Linked DNA regions of Homo sapiens: all the other regions are linked to region 1. Evidence: promoter capture Hi-C in 16 types of primary human blood cells and fetal thymus (Javierre and others, 2016). All regions are on one chromosome and are shown on one strand. Each heading gives the region's core, a stretch centred on a gene start or on the middle of the fragment in contact. The rest is flanking DNA. Distances are from core to core; before and after follow the strand shown. Region 1 holds the start of POLM (DNA polymerase mu). Region 2 overlaps CCM2 (CCM2 scaffold protein). Region 3 overlaps LOC102723334 (a long non-coding RNA gene). Region 4 holds the start of MYO1G (myosin IG). Region 5 holds the start of PURB (purine rich element binding protein B). Region 6 has its middle 4.8 kb from the start of H2AZ2-DT. Region 7 has its middle 15 kb from the start of PPIA.

Evidence for each region. Contacts are between HindIII fragments. The CHiCAGO score rates a contact against its expected background, and 5 or more counts as called.
Region 2: a contact is called between a fragment that was not itself captured here and the fragment with the promoter of POLM in region 1, in 2 of 17 cell types (monocytes and total B cells). The highest score is 7.3, in monocytes.
Region 3: a fragment that was not itself captured here is called in contact with the fragment with the promoter of POLM in region 1 in 1 of 17 cell types (naive B cells); the score reaches 5.3 in naive B cells.
Region 4: a contact is called between the fragment with the promoter of MYO1G here and the fragment with the promoter of POLM in region 1, in 3 of 17 cell types (monocytes, fetal thymus and total B cells). The highest score is 11.4, in monocytes.
Region 5: the fragment with the promoter of PURB here is called in contact with the fragment with the promoter of POLM in region 1 in 4 of 17 cell types (fetal thymus, neutrophils, monocytes and 1 more); the score reaches 7.9 in fetal thymus.
Region 6: a fragment that was not itself captured here is called in contact with the fragment with the promoter of POLM in region 1 in 2 of 17 cell types (neutrophils and monocytes); the score reaches 6.8 in neutrophils.
Region 7: a contact is called between a fragment that was not itself captured here and the fragment with the promoter of POLM in region 1, in 1 of 17 cell types (non-activated CD4 T cells). The highest score is 5.2, in non-activated CD4 T cells.

What each region holds. Positions count from the first base shown.
Region 1 is chr7:44,081,280-44,085,036 of GRCh38, reverse strand. POLM (DNA polymerase mu) reads left to right here and starts at 2,507. Exons shown (of 11, transcript NM_013284.4): 1 at 2,507-2,786. The coding sequence starts at 2,599. RefSeq lists a silencer at 1,942-2,521 and an enhancer at 2,233-2,733. The HindIII fragment of the contact is 8,170 bases long and covers 1-3,757 here.
Region 2 is chr7:45,022,909-45,026,665 of GRCh38, reverse strand. The region is part of intron 1 of CCM2 (CCM2 scaffold protein); the gene reads right to left. Among named protein-coding and RNA genes, the nearest start is that of CCM2, 25 kb to the right of the region's middle. The HindIII fragment of the contact is 9,674 bases long and covers 1-3,757 here.
Region 3 is chr7:44,994,848-44,998,604 of GRCh38, reverse strand. LOC102723334 (a long non-coding RNA gene) reads left to right here. Exons shown (of 4, transcript XR_428139.4): 3 at 3,461-3,576. Among named protein-coding and RNA genes, the nearest start is that of CCM2, 3.5 kb to the left of the region's middle. RefSeq lists enhancers at 3,326-3,375, 3,396-3,455, 3,496-3,545, 3,626-3,675. The HindIII fragment of the contact is 2,431 bases long and covers 535-2,965 here.
Region 4 is chr7:44,976,887-44,980,643 of GRCh38, reverse strand. MYO1G (myosin IG) reads left to right here and starts at 1,629. Exons shown (of 22, transcript NM_033054.3): 1 at 1,629-1,777; 2 at 3,573-3,757. The coding sequence starts at 1,683. RefSeq lists enhancers at 1-19, 1,247-1,296, 1,327-1,396 and a silencer at 1,597-1,686. The HindIII fragment of the contact is 4,854 bases long and covers 1,056-3,757 here.
Region 5 is chr7:44,883,693-44,887,449 of GRCh38, reverse strand. PURB (purine rich element binding protein B) reads left to right here and starts at 1,920. Exons shown (of 1, transcript NM_033224.5): 1 at 1,920-3,757. The coding sequence starts at 2,102. The coding sequence ends at 3,040. RefSeq lists enhancers at 1,491-1,740, 1,889-2,848 and silencers at 1,731-2,090, 2,381-2,430. The HindIII fragment of the contact is 4,558 bases long and covers 1-2,970 here.
Region 6 is chr7:44,851,369-44,855,125 of GRCh38, reverse strand. No RefSeq gene overlaps it. Among named protein-coding and RNA genes, the nearest start is that of H2AZ2-DT, 4.8 kb to the right of the region's middle. The HindIII fragment of the contact is 3,414 bases long and covers 23-3,436 here.
Region 7 is chr7:44,809,840-44,813,596 of GRCh38, reverse strand. No RefSeq gene overlaps it. Among named protein-coding and RNA genes, the nearest start is that of PPIA, 15 kb to the right of the region's middle. The HindIII fragment of the contact is 991 bases long and covers 1,463-2,453 here.

The DNA.
Region 1 (3,757 bases), core at 1,258-3,757:
CCGGCTATGTGACTCCAGGGCAGTAAGCATTATAGAAAAGCAAGCCAAGTGAGAAACGGCAGGTCGCTGTTTATGCCCATTCTTTAGCAAAGTTCAGGCCCCACCACAATTCTAACCTTGTCTTATGAATGTGGTTTCAATCTCCAAACAAGGAGGGGGTCAGTTTTTCTTGCCTTTAACTATGAACTAAATTCCTCTCATAGTTATGTTGGCCTCTGCACTACAAGAAGAAGAAGAAAAAAAAAGAAATAAGAAAACCAATTTAGTCTGTGAGGTTAGATGCAAGAGGGAGGCAGTCATGTTAGATTTCTCTCATGACTTACAATTCTGCAAAGGTGGTTTCACCTCCACGGCAGGCCACCTCTCCCTGGGTATAGGGCACATCTTCGTCCTGCAGAGCAGGCAAGTCCCTCTCTCTCCCCACCTCCTCACCCCTTCTTGCCCCCACTGGCCAATCTTCATGAATCCTTCAGCCCCATGTTGTCCTAGCAGACACTTTGCAGCAACCACTCAGAGGGCCTGGCTGATTTCTAAGCTAGGCAGTTTCTTCCACTGTCATTTGGATGAGATTCCTTGCACAAACATTTTTGCACAGTTGCCCAGTGTTTTAAGTATTCAGGTCTCATAGTCTTAAAAACTGCCTCTGCCTTCCCAGGAGAGAACAAGGGCTCCAAGGGGAGCCCAGGTGCTCTGGCCAGACAGAGGACATTAAAAGGAACAGAAATGGTTTTAGACAGCTAGAGGGATCTGCTCAGGGGATATTTGGGCAGAGCCTCCTCCTTGAGAAGGGTAGGAGCCAGATCCACAGACGAAGACCCTTAGAGCCTGCCCATCCCTGCTGGCACAAGGGGAGGATGGGGAGAGAGGGACCATACGCAGGCCTCCTGGCTTCTGTATGTGGGTCCTGAGGCCCAGGAAGCTCTACAGCCCTGAAGAGGTAGATGAATTAGGAGGCTGGGAGATGGTGTAGGAGGTCAAGAGGATGCCTGGGCTGAGCCATCTCCCCCACTCCCCTCAGCCCTGTGCTCTGAGTGCAGAGATGGGGAAGAGCCAGCCCACTAAAGATGTCAGAGAGGAGCCAAAGAAAAAGGATAGGTGCTCAAGGAGTCTGGGGCTCAAGACTGAGGACGATGGGGCAGTGATGAGGAGAGGCATGTGGAAGGGGGTTGCATCTGATCTGGTGTCCCATCAGTTAGGCTGAGCAGTGCCACACTACCGTAACAGAGGTTACAAATGGAGTATATCTAAATAAGATAGACAGAAGACTTGATATTATCAAGACATCAGATTTCCCCAGCTTGATCTATAGATTCAATGCAATCCCAATCTTGGGAAAGGAATTGCTGGATCAATGTGTATTATTTTGTTTTCATTTTGTTGGATGTGGTTGCCACATTGGCTTCCACAGTCCTTCCTATGGATTGCCAATTACCTCGCACCTTCAACATGTGTGGTCAATTTTTTTGAATGTTTGATAAACCCACAACTGAAGATATTCTCATTTAGGTATTCTGTAACGACTGGACAGGTTGGGCACTCTGGTCATAAATTTATTGACCAGGATTTCTTCTAAGAATCATCTACGTGAGTTTTTTTGCTAATTTTTCTATTAAATTATTGTCTTTTTATCTATGGACAATTTGATAAGATTATCATGAGATAATCTTAATTCCAAAATATCTCACACTTTATCCCAGTTTATCTTCTGACTCTAATTTTTAATCAGATTTAAAATTTGTCTGTAGTCCAGTTTATCATTCTTTTCCTTTAGTGTTTCCAAGTTTATTGTGATATTTAGATCATAAAAACATTCACCGACTTTTTTCCAGTACGTTGTTGGTTTCCTTTTTAGATGGAAATGTTTGACCCATCTGGAATTTATTTTGGTGTTAAGGAATGAGGAAGGGCACCAACTTCTATTTTTCCAAATGGCCTGCCAGTTGTCCTAATGCCATTCGACTGAAAAATCTTCCCGCGTGTTTGAAGCGACCGCCCCACCAGCGCATTGGAAACCCGCGTGTCGGTCCTGCGCCCGCCGGCTTCCGTGTGACAGTCCCGAGCGCAGAGGGATCGGGCACAGCCCGCACGCGTCCGCCCCGAGCCGCCGGCTCAACCCTAGACCCAGCCCCGGCGCCAAGGACACAGCCCACCCCGCTCCGCCCGGGCCTAGGTCCCAGTTCACCCTCCCTAGCCGGGGACGCCCCCTTGACCCCGCCTCCTCCACCCCCTCCAACACCCTCCCCGCCCCGCTCCAGCCCAGCCTCTCCTCCCGGAGGCCAATGGGGCCGAACAGCGCTTTCCGAGACATTAATTTAAATAAAAGGCGGGTCCTCTGCCGTTATTTGCATGGAGGCGGGTCTTCCGGAGCGGCCGGGACACCCAATCCTGTAGGAGCCCGGACCCTCCCCAGCGCTCCGACTGGCCCAAGTAGCGAGCCCCACGGAGAGGCCTCATTTGCATAGGGCGGGGCCACGTCCTCTTCCAGCCGGCGGCCGCCCGCCCGCCCACCCGCTTCCGTCAGCCTCACTGGGGCTTCCTTCCGTCTCGCTCGGAGTTTCCCTCTGCGTTCGCTCCGCGCTGCTGGAGGCTGTCGTCCCAATGCTCCCCAAACGGCGGCGAGCGCGGGTCGGGTCCCCTAGCGGCGATGCCGCTTCCTCCACGCCGCCCTCGACGCGCTTCCCGGGAGTCGCCATCTACCTGGTCGAGCCTCGCATGGGTCGCAGCCGCCGGGCCTTCCTCACAGGCCTGGCGCGCTCCAAAGGCTTCCGCGTCCTTGACGCCTGCAGGTGCGGGGCGGCGCGGCGCGGCGAGGGCTTCCATGGCACTTCTGGTTTTGGATTCTAAGTTTGCAGTGGCACTTCGTGGTCTTGTGACCTTTCCCTGAGCCTCCATCTCCTCTTCTGTAAAGGGTGCTATTAATTAGGGCGAGGCGTGTTTTAAAGGATCACTGCGAGAATCAAAACCAGAGGTCAGGGGTAATTAATAAGCAGTAGGCCGGGCGCGGTGGCTCACGCCTGTAATCCCAGCACTTTGGGAGGCCGAGGCGGGCAGATCACGAGGTCAGGAGATCGAGACCATCCTGGCTAACACGGTGAAACCCCGTCTCTACTAAAAATACAAAAAATTAACCGGAGGTGGTGGCGGGCACCTGTAGTCCCAGCTACTCGGGAGGCTGAGGCAGGAGAATGGCATGAACCTGGGAGGCGGAGCTTGCAGTGAGCCGAGATCGCGCCACTGCACTCCAGCCTGGGCGACAGAGTGAGACTCTGTCTCAAAAAAAAAAAAAAAAAAAGTCGTATTTGCTAACAGCCCTTCTGCCTGGGCTATGTCCCACCTGTGAGCGAGACTGACTTCTCAAGAGGCCCGGAGCCCGCAGGCTCCTCTGTCCTCAGGCCTGAGTAAATAACACGACTGAGAAGCTCTTGTAGGAAGGGAACCAAGAGAAGAAAAAATGGCGGCTACAGAGACAACACCCAGAGTAAGGGAGCTGGGGGTGCCCCCTAGTTTGGAGGTTGAGAGAGCAAACGAACCTGGGGCTAGTATTCCCCCACAGTTGTGTTTGATTTTTTAACATTACCAGGGATCAGTAGTGCGCCAGACCCACTCAGGAGAGGATGATAGCAGCTTAGAGTGTACAAGGCACTATCTTTGTACAACAACCCCACAGGGTGGATATGTTATCTCTGCTTTACAGAAGAGGAAATCAAAGTATAGACACGTGGCTTGCCCAAGAGCCAAACAAGTATGTGGCAGGCAG
Region 2 (3,757 bases), core at 360-2,859, 940 kb before region 1:
GCACCATTGCACTCCAGCCTGGGTAACAGAGTGAGACTCCATCTCAAAAAAAAAAAAAAAAAAAAAAATCTGGTTAGAGTGACTATATTCACAGATCAATAAATAAACATAACAATTACAATATAATTTTTTAAATATTAGGTTGAACCAAATCAAAGTGCTGATTTTCAACAGTGTTTTGGCTATAAAAATGGTACTTTCATACAATTCTATTTCATTAACCTGTAACAAATAAAGTTTAATATTTCCTGATTCCAAAAAGACTGATTGCTTCAGAATAAAATTTAGTGCTTCAATTATTATTCCATATACCACAGATGTAGAAACTGTCATAAAGTTGGAAAAGCAGCATCAGAACTAGATTTGAGTCAATATCCGGTATTAACTGGACTGTCACTTTCTGTCTTTAAAAACCAGAGTAGAGTCACAATTTCAGATTGCTCCTTCCTAAAAGTTGCCTATACAGGGCAGAACCAGCTGACCCTGACCTTCAGGTAGGCTCAAAGGGAAAAAGGCAAACCAGGAGGGAGATACAGAAAGAGGTGCCACTCAGCTGAGCAGCCTCACCTCTATTTTGGCTACTGCAGGGAGGGGAAGGATTCCAGGGAAATAGACATGACTAAAAAGAAAACCCACATGCTCTGAACACTAGTCAACCCCAACCTTCCCTCACAAACACAGTGATCCCCACGGTCAGCATGAGAGAGAAAAGCCAAAGAACAAATGGGAAGAGACAGGCACAGGAACCTACATTCTAGCTAGTATACTTAGAGACACTTGAGAAGAACTGCATCCATAAAATAAGACTAGATAGCTATGAAAAAGAGAAAACGGCCGGGTGCAGTGGCTCCCGCCTGTAATCCCAGCGTTTTGGAAGGCTGAGGTGGGCAGATCACCTGAGGTTAGAAGTTTGAGACCAGACTGACCAATATGGAGAAACCCCGTCTCTACCAAAAACACAAAATTAGCTGGGCGTGATGGCGCATGCCTGTTAATCCCAGCTATTCGGGAGGCTGAAGCACGAGAATCACTTGAACCCAGGAGGCGGAGGTTGCGGTGAGGTGAGATCACGCCATTGCACTCCAGCCTGGGCAACAAGAGTGAAACTCCATCTCAAAAAAAAAAAAAAAAGAAAAAGAGAGAACAGAGAACAAGAAATATATCTTAGAAATTACAAATATGACTGCCAAAATAAAAAATTCGTAGAATAATAACAAGGACATAGCGGAGAGCCCAAAGAATGATGTGAAGGAGAACTGCGGGGTTGGCCAATGCCTGCCTGCTGCTGATGGCCACAGCTGCAAATGTTTTACAGATGAACATTTGCCACCAATTCGATAAAGGGAATCACCAACTTTGAACCCTGATTAAGCAAAATGTTAGCCCCCAAAAAGAATTCCATTCTCAGTAGTAGAACCATATTACAAAAAATTGTACTCAATTATTATACCTTGAATTTCATCAATAAAAAAATTTACGAAAATTTGCTTTCTCTCTTATATAAGTACCTACTTAATGGCCTCAATTTTGCCCCCTGGCCCACACAGCCTGAAATATTTACTGTCTGGTCCTTTACATGAAGTTTGCCAACCCTGTCTTAGAACATAAAGTGAAAAGGTAAAAAGTTTAACATGAGAAAAATTAAAGGCCACAGAAGCTGGGTCCATCGAGTCTAACAGTTTCCTAAGAGGAGAATAAGAGCAGGCAGAATCAAAGAGGGACACAAATATCAGAAGACAACAACGATGAACTCAATTTTATGGACAGAAAAAGCACAGTAACAAGTAGGCTGAATGTAAGAGACAAACCCTCAACATTTAGACTCATCTTCACAAAACTGCAGAATTTCAAGAGAATCTTAGGTTTCCAATAAGAAAATGCAAAAAAAAGTACCTGTAAAAGCAGTAAGACTCAGATCAGCATCAGATGTATCCTGATAAATGGGAATATGGTAATCCCTTTAAAATTCTGTGTGGAAATTAATTTAAATCTGGAAGTTAATTTAAAACCAAACTGTCAATCAAGGTGCAAAATAGTTATTTTCACACCTGCAGTGCCTTGGGATCTTTACACTCTAAAAACCCCCTTTTGAAAAACATACTAGAGGATCTACTCCCAGCAAAACGAGGATCATCCAAGAGAGAAAAAGATGTGGACTCCAAGAAACAGTGGAACCAACCCAGGAAGCAGAGAAAAGAAATCCCAGGGTGACAATGACAGTGTTCAGCAAGCAAACAAAGGAAAATCTGTAAGATTCCATTATGTAAACTAAGAGCCTAGAAGTTCTTGACGATAAAAACATGTTTCTTGGGCCTTGACTAAGGGCTGGCCTGGACATGCAGAGATGAAACTCCACAATGCCTACAGGTAATCATTTAATGTTTGACTGACTGCTGAATGGTGATGCCAGAAGTTATTATCAGCTGAAGAGTCTTTCCTGAACATTATAATCAGCTGAAGAGACTTTGCTGAACTGGCTACTCAGTAGAAATCCAAAAAGTCCACACTTTAGGTGTAAGGAAAACACCCAGAACTAAATTCAAAACTGATACAGAGGCCGGGTGCGGTGGCTCATGCCTGTAATCCCAGCACTTTGGGAGGCCAAGGCAGGAGGATCACCTGATGTCGGGAATTCGAGACCAGCCTGACCAGCATGGAGAAACCCCCAACTCTACTAAAAATACAAAATTAGCAGGGCGTGGTGGCACATGTCTGTAACCCCAGCTACTACGGAGACTGAGGCAGGAGGATCACTTGAACCTGGGAGGCAGAGGTTGCAGTGAGCCAAGATTGTGCCATTGCACTCCAGCCTGGGCAACAAGAGCAAAACTCTGTCTCATAAAAAAAAAAAAAAAAAAAAAAAAAAAAAAAAAAAAAACTGATACAGAGCTATCAAAATAATGACTAAACAAAGATGCACACGACAAAAAAAAAAAAAAAAAGATTTCCCAGTAATCTCACTGCCTACCATAATAAAACTGAATCTCATTCACAATAACAAGGCATTCTCTAGAAAAAGGCTGAGTAAACTCTACCACACAGGCAAGCCACCTGTTTTTGTAAATAAAGTGGGGTTTTCTTGTGTTTTGTTGTTGTTTTTGTTAGTTTTGTTTTTTGAGACGGAGTCTCACTCTGTCATCCAGGCTGGAGTCCAGTGGCACGATCTCAGCTCACTGCAACCTCCACCTCCCAAGTTCAAGCGATTCTCCCGCCTCAGGCTTCCAAGTAACTGGGATTACAGACGCGCAACACCACACCCGGCTAATTTTTGTATTTTTAGTAGAGATGGGGCTTCGCCATGTTGGCCAGGCTGGTCTCGAACTCCTGACCTCAGGTGATCCACCCTCCTCAGCCTCCCAAAGTGCTGGGATTACAGGTGTGAGCCACTGCACCCAGCCGTAAATAAAGTTTTATTAGAACATTTAAAAAAAGAAGTCTGGGCCGGGCATGGTTCTCTCACTTATAAGTGGGAGCTAAACTATGGCTACACAAAGGCACACAGAGTGATATAATGGACACTGGAGACTTAGAAAGGGAGAAAGTGGGAGGGAGGTGAGAGATGAAAAATTACCTACTGGATACAATGTACGCTTTTTGGGTGATGGGTACACTAAAAGCCCAGACTTGCAGGGTGAGGTGGCTCATGCCTGTAATCCCAGCACTTTGGGAGGCCGAGGCTGGTGGATCACTTGAGCTCAGGAGTTCGAGACCAACCTGGTCAACATGGTGAAACCCCGTCTCTACTAAAAATATAAAA
Region 3 (3,757 bases), core at 501-3,000, 910 kb before region 1:
CTTCTCTTAGCCTAACTCTGGATGTGCTGACTTCCTCAGGCTGTTCTTATCCATCAGAATACCTTTGCCCTGTCTTTGCATACACAGGTTCATGCTTCAAGCAAAAGTCCACTGGCTAATGATCAGATGGTGATAACTGGGAATAAAGACAATAAAATGAGAAAAGCAAAAAGGCTGTTAGCTTGCTATAACAAGGGAGTCAGCCACCATCATTTGTATTTGGATGAGACTCAATGTCAGGCAGAGGAGTGGGTAAGCTTTATAGTGAAAAAAGGGAAGCCTCCAGGGATGTCCTCATTTGAGGCTGTTGGCCTGGGGAAGCAAGGGGCAGGGCATCCCAAGTGATTGGTTAGGGGCACATATTTGTCTTTCTCTGGTTGCTCCTAAGCTGGAAGCAGGACCGAAAACTAGGAAAGCTGCCAGTTTTTTTTTAATTGACAAATAATTTTTTGTTTCTTTTGTATTTTTAGAGATAAAGTCTCACTCTGTCCTTCAGGTTAGAGTGCAGTGATGCAGTCATGGCTCACTGAAGCTTCAACCTCCTGGGCTCAAGCAATCCTCCCATCTCAGCCTCCCAAGTAGCTGGGACTACAAGGACGCATCACCAAGCCTGGCTAATTTTAGTATATTTTTGTTGAGACAAGGTCACACTATGTTGCCCAGGCTGGTCTCAAACTCCTAGGCTCAAGCAATCCTCCCTCCTCAGCCTCCCAAAGTGCTGGGATTATAGGCATGAGCCATCGCACCCAGCTAACACATAATAATTGTACATATTTATGAGGTACATGTGATTTGTGTGTGTGTGTGAGGCAGAGTCTCACTCTGTCACCCAGGCTGGAGTGCAGTGGCATGATTTCAGCTCACTGCAACCTCTGCCTCCCAGGTTCAAGCAATTCTCCTGCCTCAGCTTCCCAAGTAGCTGGGATTACAGGCATGCACCACCACACCAGGCTAATTTTTTTTTTTTTTTTTTTTTTGAGACAGAGTCTTACTCTGTATTGCCCAGGCTGTAGTGCAGTGGTGCAATCTCAGCTCACTGCAACATCCACCCCCCAGTTTCAAGCGATTCTCCTGCCTCCGGAGTAGCTGGAATTACAGGTGCCCACTACCACGCCCGGCTAATTTCTGTATTTTTAGTAGAGACAGGGTTTCACCATGTTGCCCAGGCTGGTCTCGAACTCCTGGCCTCATGTGATCTGTCCACCTTAGCCTCCCAAAGTGCTGAGATTACAGGCATGAGCCACTGCACCCGGCCAAAATACATGTGATATTTTGATACATGCATATGATGTGTAATAATAAAATCAGGGTATTTAGGATATTCGTCACCTGAACACTTATTTCTTTGTGTTGGAGACATTTCAGATCTCTCCTAGCTATTCTGAAATATACAGTACATTGTTATTAACTATAGTCATCTTACTCTGCTATGGAACATTAGAATTTAGGCTGGGTGTGGTGGCTCAAACCCGTAATCCGAGCACTTGGAGAGGCTAAGCTGGGAAGATCACGTGAACCCAGGAATTGGAGACCAGCCTGGGCAATATAGTGAGATCCTTCTTCTACAAAAAATACAAAAATTAGCTGGGCATAGTGGTGTGCACCTGTGGTCCCAGCTACTCAGGGGCCTGAAGTGGGGTCCTTGAGCCCAGGAGGTCGAGGCTGCAGTGAGCTGTCATTGCACCACTGCACTCCAGCCTGGGCAACAAGCCAGATCTGTCTCACACACACACACACACACACACACACACACACACCCATGAGAAATTATTGCTTCTATTTAGCTGTATGTTTGTACACGCTAACCAACCTCTCTTCAGCCCCCTACTTTCCCCCAACACACACCCTTCCCAGCCTCTGGTGGCTATCATCCCAGTCTCTATCTCAATGAGATGAATATTTGTTTAGCTCCCACATATGAGTGAGTAAATGCAATACTTGTCTTTGTTTTTTTGTTTAAAAAAAAATTTACAGGGATGAGGTCACTATGTTGCCCAGGCTGGTCTCCAACTCCTAGGTTCAAGCCATCCTCCCACTTCAGCCTCCCAAGTATTGGGATTACAGGCTTACATAGTGACCTCTAGCTCTATTTATGTTGCTGCAAATGACATTTTCATTTTTTTTTCCTATGGCCAAATAGTATTCTATTGTGTATATATACTAATTTTTTTTGACATGAGGTCTCACTCTGTCACCCAGGCTGGAGTGCAGTGGTATGATCACTGCTCACTACAGCCTTGATCTCATAGACTCAAGAGATCCTCCCACCTCAGCCTCCCCAGTAGCTGGAACCACAGGTGTCTGCTATCACACCTGGCTAATTTTTTTACTTTTTGTAGAGATGAGGTCTCTATGTTGCCCAGGCTGCTCTCAAATTCCTGGGCTCAAGCAATCCTCGCGCCTCAGCCTCCCAAAGTGCTGGGATTATAGGCTTGAGTCACCACGCTCAACCTTATTTTTTGTCTTTTTTTTTTTTTTAGAGACAGGGCTTCCCTCTGTTACCCAGGCTGGAGTGCAGTGGCATGATCTTAGCTCACCGCAGCTTGAGCTAAGGAGCTGGGCTCCTGGGCTCAATGGATCCTCCCACCTCAGCCTCCTAAGTAGCTGGGACTGCAGGTGCGCCAACACCCTTATTTTTTGCCTTTTTGATAATAACCATTCTAAATGGGGTGAAATGGTATCTCATTGTGGTTTTGATTTGCATTTCCCTGATGACTCATGATATTGAGTATTTTTTTATATGTACCTATTTGTTTTTTGTACATCTTCTTTTGAGAAATGTCTACTCAGATTCTTCGCCCACTTTTTAATGGATTATTTGTGGTTTTTTGCTGTCAAGTTGTTTGAGTTCCTTGTATATTCTGGATATTAGTCCCTTGCCGCATGAATAGTTTGCAAATATTTTCTCCCATTCTAAAGGTTGTCTTTTCACTCAGTTGATTGTTTCCATTGCTGTGCAGAAGCTTTTTAGTTTCGCTTAATATAGTCCCATTTGTCTATTTTTGGTTTTGTTGCCTATGCTTTTGAAATTTTAGCCATAAAATCTTTGCCTCGTTCAATGTCTTGAAGCATTTCCCCTATGTTTTCTTCTAGTAGTTTTGTAGTTTCAGGTCTTATGTTTAAGTCTTTAATCCATTTTGAGTTGATTTTTGTATCTGGTGAGAGATAGGGTGCCAGTTATTAATTAAGTCCTAGGCTTTGGGGGCTGTTAGAAAAGTTACTCCTGGATTGTCACTAGAGATAACACCTGGCTTCCTGCAAGTATGACTTACAGCAGGCTTGTTTCCTGGGCTGGTTGCTGTAGATAACGAATTGGTTTCCTGAGGAGGTTTCTGCAGGTTGTCAGTCAGAGTTCTAGTTGTACAAATGGTCCAGCCATTGTCTATTTGTATATTCAGTCTCTCGTAACAGACACCAATGAGACAATTATAACATAAAACAATCTTTTCTTTCTCTCCAGGTCACACCTTGGCTGTAAAGTGTCCTAACAGCCACCTACTTATGATTACTGCTTTCTTACCAATAACCTCCCCAGCCTGTTGTGTGGCTCCTACATCTTGAACAAAAGCGACCAAGGTACCCAATTACTAAACTGCCCACACTTCATGAAAGCAACTTTATAGCCATGATACTCACTTCCCCTTGTCCCCTCTTCAGAATTACTCAGGGCCAGCCCAAACCTTACAAAGTCCCCTTCCTATTCCCTCGTAATGAGAAGCAGCCCTTCTTCCTCTGGGGTGCTCTCCCTGGTCATGGT
Region 4 (3,757 bases), core at 380-2,879, 900 kb before region 1:
TCCCTGGGGGTTGGGGAAGTGAAACTTGAAAAGACAGATGAGCTGGCAAGAGTCTGGGTGAGAATTCCCAGACTTGAGTGTAGGTTTGGGAAACCCTTCAAAAGCACCAGCCCAAGAGCCTGGGGGTGGGGAGGAGGCCACACTTGTCAGAGTTCCGAAGGACTGACTTTGAATTTGCCCAAGAGGAGCCCCAGGTCTGGCCCAGGGTGGAGCCAGAGGCTGCCCACTTACAAATTTGGGGATTTTTCAGGCCAGTGGCCCCTTATTGCAGTGGTGCGTGACTCAGTTTTATTAGGTACTTGAATAAGTACTTTCAGTTTTATCAGGAATGCATTTGCTTTAAGGTATTCGAGAGAAAAAAATAAACTTAACTTGCCTATCCATTACTTCAAAGTTTAAAAAATGGGATGACTGAAAGACAATAGTTAAACTAGTGCTTATGAGTACAACAAATCTCAAAGGCAGCACATGAATGACTGAAGTTTGGGAATTCTGGAGTCTGCCCTTTGACCTCCCTGTATGAGGGAAGGGGTGAAAGAGAAATGTCACCAGTCTATTTGTAGGATGAGAGAGAACTGCATCCATTTGACCTTTGATGAGAGAATCGCCCCAGTGTTCCTAGAGGATGGGTGTGACCTGCCCCAGTCTGTCCTGGGATGAAAAAGAACTTTTTCCAGTCTGCCTGGAAGCTAAGAGAACTGCACCCCTCCCACTTCTTCCAGGAGCACTAAGTGTCAGGAATGCAGTGTCTGGAGATTTTGGCCACTCCCTAAATGCAGCCGCTCCCCAAATGCGCTGCCTCATCTTCAAAGTGCAGGGACAGCAGCTCTGAGATGAGGCCACAGGGCTCCAGGCATGTTCCTGGTCCTCACTGCAGTTTATGGGGGATCGGCTGGACACAAGTACAAGGCAGAGGACAGTTAGGGGCACAGGGGTCCCACTGAAGGCCAGCCCCATGCAGAGGATGCTCTGGGGTCCTCTGTCCCTCCCCCGTGGCTGGGGTGGGGAATTGCAGTGCTAGGACCACTGGCCCTTGGCAGGTCACACAAGAAGCTTTGCTCGTCTACACCCCAGTGTGGCCTTCACACTGCAAAGAAGGCTGTTGCCCCCACCCCAAAGGCCTGGGCATTAGGATCCTTTTTCATTTTTGTATTAATGTACAATGTACATACAGTATATTGCATCTAGTGTTCAGTTCTGACTTGAGAGACACACACAGCCAGGTAACCAAGATCACGTCAAAAAATCTTTCTTTAAAGTCCCACAAGTGACTCTAACGTGCTGCCAGGGTTGGAAGCCAACCCACGGAGTCTTGTCTCCTGCTTGTGGGTGGAGGGGAGCTTCCGAAGGAGGCCAGCGAAGAACCCTCCAAAGCGGGGAGGACCCAGCATCCGGCCCCTCGCCCCTGGCGTGCAAACGGGTCAGACCGTTAGGCACAGCCTCCTTGTGGGGCGCAGGGACAGGAAGCAGGGTTTAGAGCACCTCGAGGGGGAAGGAGTGGCAAGTGCGGAGGGCAGCCCCTCCCAGGACTAGAACCCACTTCCTACTTTACACCAGCACTGGAGGAGGCTGGTGGGGCAGGGCGGGGGCGGTGGGGCCTCCCCTAGCCTTCCCTCCCCCTCTCCTTCACTGTCCTTCCAGCAGGCACAGGAAGGTGAGGCAAGGTGTTTCCAGCCGGCAGGATGGAGGACGAGGAAGGCCCTGAGTATGGCAAACCTGACTTTGTGCTTTTGGACCAAGTGACCATGGAGGACTTCATGAGGAACCTGCAGCTCAGGTAGGCCCAGGGCAGGAGGCAGTGGCTCCCCTCCTCCAGGGTCTCCCACCTTGCGTCCTCGCAGAGACCTGAGGGAAAGAGGAAGGCACGCTGCTGTCCAAGGGAGGGGGCAGTGGCACACACCCACCCAGACCAGATGGGGCTGAAATGAGTGCCTCAAAGCACGGCCCCAGGGGACAGGAACAGACAAGGAGGCAACTGTCCCTGTCAGGGCTGGCAAGTCAGCACCGGAGCTGCCCACCACCTCAACCCACCCCTGCCTCCCACACAGTCCAGGCATCTTCTGCCCCTTCTTTCCTGCCCGACGGGGCCAGGGCATGACACTTCTTGGACAGATACATACCAGGCACTATCTTTCCAGGAGGGACCAGGGGCACCTCCCTCCAGCCACTTCCCAGCCAGTTGTTGATGCTCCCTCGATGCATCTCATCCATGGGGCCTGGCCTGAGCCCTGGGGACACTGAGATGAAGCAGTCAGGCTCCACCCTAGGGTCCAAACATTCCCACCAAGTTGAGGTGACATTCTCCTGGGGTACATGGAGTATCACAGGACACAGTTGGTAGAAGTGATATTGGAGCCCAATTTACCATCAAGGAGGGCAGGTGGAGGGCAGGGAGAAGCCCGGGAGGTAGGGGCATGGCACAGTAGGGTGGCCATACAGGCAGCTGGGCTTCCTGCCAGGACTCCCAGGGAGGGGCAGAAGGCCACTCGCTGTGTACTCCGGAAGCTCCCTGGGGAGAGCTTGGGGACCAGGATCCCCACTAAGCACCGAAGGCAAGAGACCACGAGCCTGGCTCAAAGAGGAGGGCTAGCCAGGACGTGAGCTAAGCACTTTGTGCACATTGTTCTACCTCATTCTTATAAAATGAGCTTATGAAACATTGTCCTCTCTATTTTGATGAGGAGAACACTGAGCCCTGGAGACGTGGGTGACTTGTGCCCTCATCCCCAGCTTGTAGGAGGATGGGAGCTAGGCCCAGGAAAACCCATGTCAGAGGTGGTGGAGAAAGAGGAACCTCAGGACAGGCCCACCCAGGACAGGCTGCCGGGAGACAGGGCCATCCAGGGAAGGGTGGGTACCACACACCAAGGGGAGATGGGTCTGAGGGGCAGGCCTGCCAGTCCTCCTCCCAGGGGCAGAAAGGTCAAGAGAAGGGCAGACATCCACCCCCACTGGGGACCAGGTTTGTGAAGGAAAGGGTCAAGAAGTCTGAGGCTGTGCCAGGGGAGAGGCAGCAGCCACTGGCCACAGGCTGGGGGGTCGGGGGTGTAAAGACAACGACATCAACTCCCTCCCTGTCATCTGGGTGGGGCTGGGTGGGGTCCCCTTTTGTCTCTGGGTTCCCGCCCAGGCCTTGAGACAGGAAACAGCCGAGGAGGCCCCTCCTTCCCCTCCCAGCCCAGTCACTTCTCAACCCCATCTCCCCATCTGCCCTGCGGGGTTCACCCCAGGAGCCAGCCCTGACTCACGGCACCCAGTGCAGTCTTGGGCAAGTCTGTTTCCTTTGCAAAATGAGTGGTCATGTTTCCAGTGACCTTGGGATCCCTGGGGAGACCACTGTGGACCCCAAACTCTATGCCGCAATGGAGACAGTCTCTGAGTGGCTCAGCTCACCCAGGATGGCACCAGGGAGACGCAAGGTCAACACCTGCCCCCTTCTTCCTTCTCCACTCTCAGCCCGTCAGGGTGGGAGCGCTGGCCTACTGGGGCCAGGCCCTGATATGGGCTCTGGCGAAAGGCCTGTGGGTGCCTGTAAGCCTGTGAGTGCTGAGGCCTACCCCTGCTGTGTCCAGGTTCGAGAAGGGCCGCATCTACACCTACATCGGTGAGGTGCTGGTGTCCGTGAACCCCTACCAGGAGCTGCCCCTGTATGGGCCTGAGGCCATCGCCAGGTACCAGGGCCGTGAGCTCTATGAGCGGCCACCCCATCTCTATGCTGTGGCCAACGCCGCCTACAAGGCAATGAAGCACCGGTCCA
Region 5 (3,757 bases), core at 671-3,170, 800 kb before region 1:
CCTAGCACTTTGGGAGGCCGAGGTGGGTGGATTGCCTGAGCTCAGGTGTTCGAGACCAGCCTGAGCAACACGGTGAAACCCTATCTCTACTAAAATACAAAAAATGAGCTGGGTATGGCTATAGTCCCAGCTACTTAGGAGGCTGAAGCAGGAGAATTGCTTGAACCCAGGAGGCAGAGGTTGCAGTGAGCCAAGATTGTTCCACTGCACCCCAACCTGGGCAACAGAGCAAGACTGCTCAAAAAAAAAAAAAAAGTGGAAATGTTGGGTCTTATTTTATGAAAGGTATATAAGAAACTGCCAAACTGTTTCCCAAAGCATTTATACCATTTTATATCCTTACTAGCAATGTATGAGTTCCAGTTTCTTCACATCCTTCTCAACACTTGATGTTACATTTTTTAATTTTAGCCATTCTAGTTGGTATTTCATTCTGACTTTAATTTATATTTCCCTAATGATGAATAATGTTGAGCACTGTTTCATGTGCTTACTGGCTTTTTTGACGAAGTGTCTGTTAAAATCTTTCACCTTTTATATTGGGTTATCTATTATTTGTGTTCTTTACAAGTCCATTGTTGGATTCACTATCTATGAATAACTACATTTAGGCTGGGTGTGGTGGCTCACATCTGTAATCCCAGCACTTTGGGAGGCTGAGGCGGGCAGATCACCTGAGGTCAGGAGTTCAAGACCAGCCTGGCCAACATTGTGGAACCCCATCTCTACTAAAAATACAAAAATTAGCCGGGTGTGGTGGCGGTTGCCTGTAATCCCAGCTACTCAGGAGGCTGAGGTAGGAGAATTGCTTGAACCCGGGAGGTGGAGGGTGTAATGAGCTAAAATCACGCCACTGCACTCCAGCCTGGGTGACAGAGCAAGACTCAAAAAAAAAAAAAAAAAAATTTAAGGATGAGGACATTTTGGCTTTGGAAAATCAAGTAACTGGTCAAGGTCACAGATTCAAACCCAGTGCAGTTGCAGAGCCTACACTTTTTAACACTATTCCAATTCTGCCTCTTGTTACACCTCAATGCTTACAACAAAAAGACCTCATAGGAATTATTCATTTTATTGATAAAGAAACTAAAGATTGGCAGTCAATTTCCTTAACCACTTTAATATGGCTAACTGTGGGGACAGTTAACTGATCTCTGGATCCCAAATCTAACCTCATCCTAAATCATCTTCTTTCTATATTGTTCCCACAGTGATCTTTCCAAAATGTGAACCTGATCACATACGGTGGCTCCAGACTCTGGGGTAGGCACTAACTCTCCCGCACTGCAAATGGCTTTCCTTGATCTAATCCACCCTCCAGTGTCATCTACGACCATTCTTCAGGCATACACACCCCCAGCTGCTCTGAGCTCCCAGCATCAGGCCCTGGGTGCCTCTGCACTGCCGTCTCCTATGCTGGGTGGCTCTTCTCCAGAGTTGCCAGGCCAACTGCAGTTTGCCCTTCAGAGTCAGCTCATGCCTCCTCTAGGGAACCCCACAGGCTGGTCAGAACCCGCTTCCGAGTGCTCCAAAGGATCTCCCTCCCCCCGGTCGCCAGTGTATAGACTGGAACTCTGTTCCCAGCACACAACCAGCGCGAGCAGGCTGGGGCCTGAGTATGCTCAGCTAACGCCCCGGAAGCGAGAAGGAGGGAAGTGGACGACACCGGAGTCTAAAGTAAAAGTGTCACGGGAAGAGGCGCGTAGACAGACGCAGCGGGCGGCTGAGTCACGCTAAGGCTGGCAAGTCCCCAGGGCTAGAAACCGAGCAGTAACACTAGCCTACTCTCAGCTTGCCGCCCGCCCGGCGCGGCCCCTGACGTCACCCCTCTGCGCCACGCCGCCGCGGCGCTTCCGGCCGCGAGGCCGCGGAGGGCGGGACGGAGTGACTTCACGGGAAATCGCGCGCCGGAAGTGGCTAGGGCTGCACGGAAGTCGCGGGGGCGGGGCGCGGAGGCGATGGGGGGGCGGCGGCGGCCGGCGATGAGCGGCGGGAGCGCGTGAGCGAGCCGGGCGGGCGAGGCTGGGGGGCCCCGGAGCGCGAGCCGGAGGGCGGGGGCGCGAGCGCGGCGGGCGGTGGCGGCGAGGCGGCGGCCTAGAAGATGGCGGACGGCGACAGCGGCAGCGAGCGCGGCGGCGGCGGTGGGCCGTGCGGGTTCCAGCCCGCGTCCCGCGGCGGCGGCGAGCAAGAGACGCAGGAGCTGGCCTCGAAGCGGCTGGACATCCAGAACAAGCGCTTCTACTTAGATGTGAAGCAGAACGCCAAGGGCCGCTTCCTCAAGATCGCCGAGGTGGGCGCGGGCGGTTCCAAGAGCCGCCTCACGCTGTCCATGGCGGTGGCCGCCGAGTTCCGCGACTCGCTGGGCGACTTCATAGAACACTACGCGCAGCTGGGCCCTAGCAGCCCCGAGCAGCTGGCGGCTGGCGCCGAGGAGGGCGGCGGGCCGCGGCGCGCGCTCAAGAGCGAATTCTTGGTGCGTGAGAACCGCAAGTACTACCTGGACCTCAAGGAGAACCAGCGCGGCCGCTTCCTGCGCATCCGCCAAACGGTCAACCGCGGCGGTGGCGGCTTCGGCGCGGGCCCCGGGCCGGGCGGCTTGCAGAGCGGCCAGACCATCGCGCTGCCTGCGCAGGGCCTCATCGAGTTCCGCGACGCGCTGGCGAAGCTCATAGACGACTACGGAGGCGAGGACGACGAGCTGGCAGGCGGCCCGGGAGGCGGCGCCGGGGGCCCAGGGGGCGGCCTGTATGGAGAGCTCCCGGAGGGCACCTCCATCACCGTGGACTCCAAGCGCTTCTTCTTCGATGTGGGCTGCAACAAATACGGGGTGTTTCTGCGAGTGAGCGAGGTGAAGCCGTCCTACCGCAATGCCATCACCGTACCCTTCAAAGCCTGGGGCAAGTTCGGAGGCGCCTTTTGCCGGTATGCGGATGAGATGAAAGAAATCCAGGAACGACAGAGGGATAAGCTTTATGAGCGACGTGGTGGGGGCAGCGGCGGCGGCGAAGAGTCAGAGGGTGAGGAGGTGGATGAGGATTGAAACGGGCAGCTTCCCCTACAGGCCTCCACCCAACCACCATCCCCTTGGCTAGAGAATTCCCTTTCCTGCTCATCCCCAGTGAGCTAGTGGAGAGGGAGCAAGGGAGGCCGCAGAGGGAAAAAACAAAACGTAACACAGTTAAGAGAAATAATCGTAAGAGAACAGTGACGGACAACTTGAGAAAAGCAGTCAAGTTCCAAGGAACTGACAGCAACCTGCAAAGAGGAAAACAGCATCTCCTCACCTGCGTAAAATTGTCTCAGCTTCTGTTGTTTCTCAACTGAGGTTCGTAAACCCATCAGGATAATCCCTGGAGGGAATAGATCCTTGCACATCCAGGGCAAGAAACATGTCCAAGTTACCCAGACCATTGATAACAGTTGCATTTAGGTTGCACCTGGGTAATCTGGCATAAAAGATCTCTCTAGGCCTCACTGTTGCGGTGTCTATCCCTTCACCTCCATTGAAATCAGCATTTTGGATCTAGGTCTTCATGGAATCCTTGAGAAGAGAGGCCTTTACAATTACCCAGTTCTGAGGGTTCAGGTTCACGAAAAGAAATGCAACTTGGGATAATCATGAACAGGTTAAAGATAAGATTTCAAGAAGCCATCTAAGAATACAGAACCAAATTGGATCCATTTTTTTAAAAAAATGGTTTTGCATGGAACCTGGACCAAGGCAAATGTCTTTTCTTCGCAGAATTGTTTTCCAGGA
Region 6 (3,757 bases), core at 480-2,979, 770 kb before region 1:
TCTCAATAAAAAGCAAAAAGCTTACAGAATATGGATATGAAGAAATAAAACATTTTGTGCAGTCATACAAGGTATTTGTGTTTTAAGCTAAGTGTTTTACAAAAACTCAAAAAAATTTTTTAATGTAAAGGTTTATAAAGTTAAAAAGTTATGGTAAGCTAAGGTTAACTTATTATTGAAGAAAAATATTTTTATAAATTTAGAGGAGCCTATGCACACTGTTCATAGTCTCCAGTACTATACAGTATAAAGTCCTAGGCCTTCACATTCATTCACCACCCACTCACTGAATCATTCAAAGCAACTTCCAGTCCTGCAAGCTCCATTTATGGTAAGTGCCCTATACAAGTGTACTATTTTGTATCTTTTTTGGGGTTTTTGTTTGTTGGTTTGTTTTTTGAGACAGAGTTTCGCTCTTGTTGCTCAGGCTGGAGTGCAATGGCACGATCTCGGCTCACTGCGACCTCTGCCTCCCAGGTTCAAGCGATTCTCCTGCCTCAGCCTCCCCAGTAGCTGGGATTACAGGCATGTGCCACCACACCCAGCTAATTTTTGTATTTTTAGTAAAGATGGGGTTTCACCATGTTGGCCAGGCTAATCACGAACTACTGACCTCAGGTGATCTGCCCACCTCAGCTTCCCAAAGTGTTGGGATTATAGGCATGAGCCACCCCAGCCCAGCCTTGTATCTTTTATACTGTATTTTTACTGTTCCTTTTCTATGTTTAGGTATACAAATACTTACCATTATGTTACAGTAGTATTCAGCACTAGTAACATGCTGTACAGATTTGTAGCCTAGGAACAACAGGCTATGCCATATAGCTAGGTGTCTAGTAGGCTATATATACCATCTAGGTTTGTGTAAGTACACTCTATAATGTGAGCATGATGATGAAATTTCCTAATGACACATTTCTCAGAAGGTATCCCCATCAGTAAGCAATGCATGACTGTACTTTAAAAAGGAGAATTTGGCTATCCTTTACAAAAGTAGCCAAAAGAGGCCGGGCGCGGTGGCTCACGCCTGTAATCCCAGCACTTTGGGAGGCCAAGGCGGGTGGATCACGAGGTCAGGATATCGAGACCATCCTGGCTAACACGGTGAAACCCCGTCTCTACTAAAAATACAAAAAAAAATTAGCTGGGCGTGGTAGCGGGGGCCTGTAGTCCCAGCTACTCGGGAGGCTGAGGCAGGAGAATGGCGTGAACCTCGGAGGCGGAGCTTGCAGTGAGCCGAGATCGCGCCACTGCACTCCAGCCTGGGCGACAGAGCGAGACTCCGTCTCAAAAAAAAAAAAAAAGGAATAGCCAAAAGAAAATTTCTGTCTCTTACAGTCTTTGTGATATTTTGAAGAGCACTGCAGCATTAAAATGGAATTTAAAAGTGAACACAGGGATAAAAAGCTCCTGCAATCTATGTATAGTAATCTTTAAGTCTGAAGTCTCTAAATGCTAACACACTTCACTGTATCAGCAACACCTCTGCAGAGGTGAAACTGATGACTAAGGGCAAGGATGGGAGGAGTTTGTGTGTCTGTGTGTATGAGTCTTGCTCTCACTCAGGCTGGAAGGCAGTGGCACAATCACAGCTCATTGCATCCTTAAATTCCTGGGCTCAAGTGATCCTTCTCCCTCAGCCTCCTGAGTAGCTGGGACTACATGTGCACGCCACCATGCCTGGCTTATTTTCTTAATTTTTTTATTTTTTGAGACGGAGTCTTGCTGTGTCGCCCAGGCTGGAGTGCAGTGGCGCAATCTCGGCTCACTGCAGGCTCCGCCTCCCGGGTTCATGCCATTCTCCTGCCTCAGCCTCCCGAGTAGCTGGGACTACAGGCGCCCGCCACTACGCCCGGCTAATATTTTGTATTTTTAGTAGAGACGGGGTTTCACCGCGTTAGCCAGGATGGTCTCGATCTCCTGACCTCGTGATCTGCCTGCTTCGGCCTCCCAAAGTGCTGGGATTACAGGCGTGAGCCACCGCGCCCGGCTTATTTTTTTTATTTTTCACAGAGATGTGGGTCTCACTATGTCACCCACACTGGTCTCGAACTCCTGGGCTCAAGCGATCCTCCTGCCTTAACCTCTAAAGTGCTGAGATTACAGGCATGAGCCACTGCACCAGGGGAGTCTTTTCACTGTATACCCTTTGTACATTTTGAAATTTTGTACGTGTGAATATCTTGCCTACTCAAAAATTGACTACATTTTTGCAGAGAAAAGTCATTGTCTTAGTTCAGGTTTCCCAGGAAACAAATGGGATTTGCTTTCAAGAGGTAATAGTATGGAATGCTCTTGGGGACATTACTAGGAGAAAATAGAGGAAGTAGGATTACGCAGAAGTTGAACTTCAATGCAGTTAGATCAAGTCAAAACTAATCACACAAGAAACTCTGGAGCTGGAATGGCCCTTCAGAATTGTCTCAAATTAAGGCAAAAGAGCTAGGCACTATATCCTACATCCACCAGTCACTGGAGGTAGGCCCCCTAAAAAGGAGTGTAAACTTGGGCGATACAGCTTCCTTTGGCCAAGTCCAATTCCTGGGTAGAGATCCCTGAGTAATGATCAGTCAACACTTCCAGGAGCTAAATAAGTGCTCCAGTTTTTTTGTTTTTGTTTTTTTGAGACAGAGTCTTGCTCTGTTGCCCAGGCTGGAGTGCAGTGGCGTCATCTCGGCTCATTGCAACTTCCACCTCCTGGGTTCAAGTGATTCTCCTGCCTCAGCCTCCCAGAGTAGCTGGGACTACAAGCGCATGCCACTACACCCAGCTAATTTTTGTTTTAGTAGAGATGGGGTTTCACCATGTTGGCCAAGCTGGTCTGGAACTCCTGACCTCAGGTGATCTGCCCACCTCAGCCTCCCAAAGTTCTGAGATTACAGGGATGAGCTACCACACCTGGCCAAGTGCTCCAGTTTTATAAGGAATACGTGGGCTCTGGACTGTGCACTGCAGCATATACTATACCAGTGGTTCTTAAATTTCAGTATGCACCAGAATCCCCTGGAGCGCTTGTAGGTCCCACCCTCAGTGTCAGATTCAGCAGGTCTGGGGTGGTGGTGAGAATACATTTCTAACAAGTTCCAAGTGATGCTGATGCTGGTGGTCTAAGGATCACACTTTGAGAACAATTATACTATATATTACTGGGTTAAATCCAGCAACATTGAATAATTTTTTTTTTAGAGATACAGTCTGGTTCTGTTGCCTGTCTGGTGAGCAGTGACACAATCATACATAGCTCACTGCAGCCTTGAACTCGTGGGCTCAAGTTCTCTACCCACCTCAGCCTCTCAACTAGCTGGGATCACAGGCATGTGCCACACACTCAGCTAATTTTTTTCTTTTAATTTTTGTAGAAGTGGAGTCTTGCCATGTTGCCCAGGCTGGTCTCAAACTCCTGCCCTGGTGACTCATGCCTTGGCCTCCCAAAGCTTTAGGATTACAGGCATGAGCTACCATCCCCAGCCCAAAGTTGAATAATTTGTCAATGTTTGTAGTTTATCATTTATAGATGCTAATACATAACATTTTCTGGTTAGACTGGTGTTCTTCATGAGCTCATCTTTGCCTTTTTTGTTACCCTAGTTCACTAGAAACTAAATTTTACTAACACACTTGGTTTATAAAACTGTTAGTAGGCAGACTTTTTTCTGGCATCTGTGTTTACAGTGATGATATAATTTAGTGATGATATATAAATCAGTGAAAGGATTACTATTATCTACAATGAGAACCAGTCTTTTTCAACCTAACT
Region 7 (3,757 bases), core at 709-3,208, 730 kb before region 1:
TTCAGAATTTAAGGTTCTAAAGATAACCAATCTCATTTCCTCTTGCATTTATTTATATTTTATATTAATATATGTGTGTGTATATATATTTATTTATTTATTTATTTATTTATTTTGAGATGGAGTTTCGCTCTTGTTGCCTAGGCTGGAGTGCAATGGCGCGATCTTGGCTCACTGCAACCTCCACCTCCCAGGTTCAAGTGATTCTCCTGCCTCAGCCTCCCGAGTAGCTGGGATTACAGGCATGTGCCACCATGCCCGGCTAATTTTATATTTTTAGTAGATACGGGGTTTCTCCATGTTGGTCAGGCTGGTGGTCTCAAACTCCCAACCTCAGGTGATCCGCCTGCCATGGCCTCCCAAAGTGCTGGGATTACAGGCGTGAAGCACTGCGCCCTGCCGTATTTTTTTTGAGACAGTCTTGCTCTGTTGTCCAGGCTGGAGTGCAGTGGTGCAATCATGGCTCACTGCAGCCATGACCTCCTGGGCTCAACCAATCCTCCTGCCTCAGCTTCCTGAGTAGCTAGGACTACAGGCATAAGCCATCATATCCTCCTCTTTCATTTAAAGTAATCCTGTCATTAAAGCAGATTTACTTTTCACCACTGACATTACTATCCTGGCCCAAGCCCCTTTCCTCACTCCTGGATGATGCAGTAGTCTCCAGATTTCACTCCGCCACATAGTCTATCCTCAACAGACTTCAGTCAAAGTGACCTTTTTAAGAATGGTGGCTTAGGCCGGGCGCGGTGGCTGATGTCTGTAATCCCAGCACTTTGGGAGGCTGAAGTTGGCAGATCACCTGAGGTCAGGAGTTCAAGACCAGCCTGGCCAACATGGCGAAACCCCGTCTCTACTAAAAAATACAAAAAATTAGCCGGGCGTGGTGGTGGGCGCCTGTAATCCCAGCTAGTTGGGAGACTGAGGCAGTAGAATTGCTTGAACCTGGGAGGTGGAAGCTGCAGTGAGCCGAGATCACGCCACTGTACTCCAGAGTGGGTGACACAGCAAGACTCCGTCTCGGGGGGGAAAAAAAAGGTAGCTCTGTTGGGCACAGTGGCTCATACCTGTAATCCCAGCACTTTGGGAGGCCGAGTCAGGTGAATCACCTGAGGTCAGGAGTTCAAGACCAGCTTGGCCAACATGCCAAAACCCTGTCTCCAATAAATATACAAAAATTAGCTGGGTGTGGTGGCGCTCGCCTGTAATCCCAGCTACTCGGGAGGCTAAGGTAGGAGAATCACTTGAACCCGGGAGGTGGAGGCTGCAGTGAGCCGAGATTGCGCCACTACACTCTAGCCTGGATGACAGAGTGAGACTCTGTCTCAAAAAAAAAAAAAAAAAAAAAAAAAGAAGAAGAACGGTGGCTCATGCCTGTAGTCCTAGCACTTTGGGAGACCAAGGCAGGCGGATTGCTTCAGCCCAGGAGTCTGAGACCAGCCTGGGCAACATGGTGAAAGCTTGTCTCTACAAAAAATTTTAAAAGAATTTTTTGGCCAGGAGTGGTGGGTCACACCTGTAATCCCAGCACTTTGGGAGGCTAAGGCAGGCGGATCACTTACGGTCAGGACTTTGAGACCAGCCTGGCCCACATGGTGAAACCCTGCCTCTACTAAAAATACAAAAACTAGTCGGGCGTGGTGGTTCACTCCTATAGTCCCAGCTACTTAGGAGGCTTGAGACACAACAATCGCTTGAACCTGGGAAGCGGAGGTTGCAGTGAGCTGAGATAACACCAGTGCACTCCAGCCTGGACAACCAAGCAAGACTCTGTCTCAAAAAAATTTTTTTTTAATATTAGCCAGGTGTGGTGGGTGGCACATGCCTGTAGTTCCAGCTACCAGGAGGCTGAGATAGGAGAATCGCCTGAGGCCAGGAGGTCGAGGCTGCAGTGAGCTGAGATCAGTTCATTCCAGCCTTGGCAACAGAGCAAGACCCTATCTAAAAAAAAAAAAAAAGTTAGGCAAATGCTGTCACTCCTCTGCTCAAACTTCTATAGATATATGGATCCTATTTGGATGTAAATTCAAATAAGGCAACTGGGAAAACAATTATTTAATATATTGAATAAAAATACATAAGTCCATAGTGACAGGAGGAGGGAGGGATCAGAAGGGTACTTTACAACTGCAAAAGGGAATAATTGATTCAGACAAATATAATTAATGCCAAAACACAACAATCAGGTGAAAAGGCTCTCTTCTTGGAAAGAGGGTCTTTATGCAGAGGCAAAATATCACCCCTCAAGATTACCTAATTTTCAGAAAAGGGAAAAGATACCTTTCCAGTGGAGCAGTCTGGCAGGCATTACCTTAACTGCAAGTTCAAATTTAGCCTCACTGATGAGTCAGCCTGAGACTTTGTGCCTCCTGATGTGAGGCAAGATTAAGTACACAAAGTATCACCTATGAAATCTTCCTGCTAAATATGATGAATTTGAATCCAATTAAGCTTCTAGGCCTAGTGTAATTTCCAATTTACAGAAAATACAGGAGCTAAAAGAGAAAAACAGGAAACAATTAGCTCCAGAATAATGGACATTCCACAAAGTCAATGTCCTGAACTCTTTGTTTTATTTGTTTCTTTATTTTATTTATTTATTTATTTTTGAGATGGAGTTTTACTCTTGTCGCCCAGCCTAAAGTGCAATGGCACGATCTCAGCTCACTGCAACCTCCACCTCCCAGGTTCAAGCAATTCTCCTGTCTCAGCCTCCTGAGTAGCTGGGATTACAGGCATGTGCCACCACGCCCGGCTAATTTTTTATTTTTTAGTAGAGATGGGGTTTCACCATGTTGGCCAGGCTGGTCCTGAACTCCTGACCTCAGATAATTCACCTGCCTCGGCCTGGAATTGCAGGCGTGAGCCACCGCACCCAGCTGTTTTATTTCTTTTGGAGACAAGGTCTGGCTCTATCACCCAGGCTGGAGTGCAGTGGCACAATCACGTCTCACTGCAAACTCCACGTCTCACTGCAAACTCCACCTCTCAGGCTCAAGGGATTCTCCCACCTCAGCCACCTGAGTAGCTGGGACCACAGGCTCGCATCCAGTGTGACCACAGGCTCACACCTGGCTAATTTTTGTATTTTTTGTAAAGATGGGGTTTCACTATGTTGCCCAGGCTGGTCTCCAACTCATGAGCTCAAGCAATCTACCTGCCTTGGCCTCCCAAAGTGCTGGGATTACAGGAGTGAGCCACCGTGCCCAGCTGTCCTGAACTTTTTTTTTTTCTTTGATACACAGTCTCGCTCTGTCTCCAGGCTGGAGTGCAGTGGCATCTGCCTCCCAGGTTCAAGTGATTCCCCTGCCTCAGCCTCTTGAGTAGCTGGGACTACAGGTGCGTGCCACCACCCCCGGCTAATTTTTTGTATTTTAGTAGAGACAGTGTTTCACCATGTTGGCCAGGTTGGTCTCGATCTCCTGACCTTGTGATCCACCTGCCTCAGCCTCCCAAAGTGCTGGGATTACAGGCGTGAGCCACTGCGCCCAGCCTGTCCTGAACTTTTAAAAGAGTCAACATCGGCTGGGCGCAGTGGCTCACGCCTGTAATCCCAGCACTTTGGGAGGCCGAGTTTGGAGGATCACTTGAACTCAAGAGTTCGAGACCGACCTGGACAACATCGTGAAACCCCCTCTCTACTAAAAATACAAAAATTAGCTGGGCGTGGTGGCATCAGCCTCTAATCCCAGCTACTTGGGAGGCTGCGGAAGGAGAATTACTTGAACCTGGGAGGCGGAGGTTGCAGTGAGTGAAG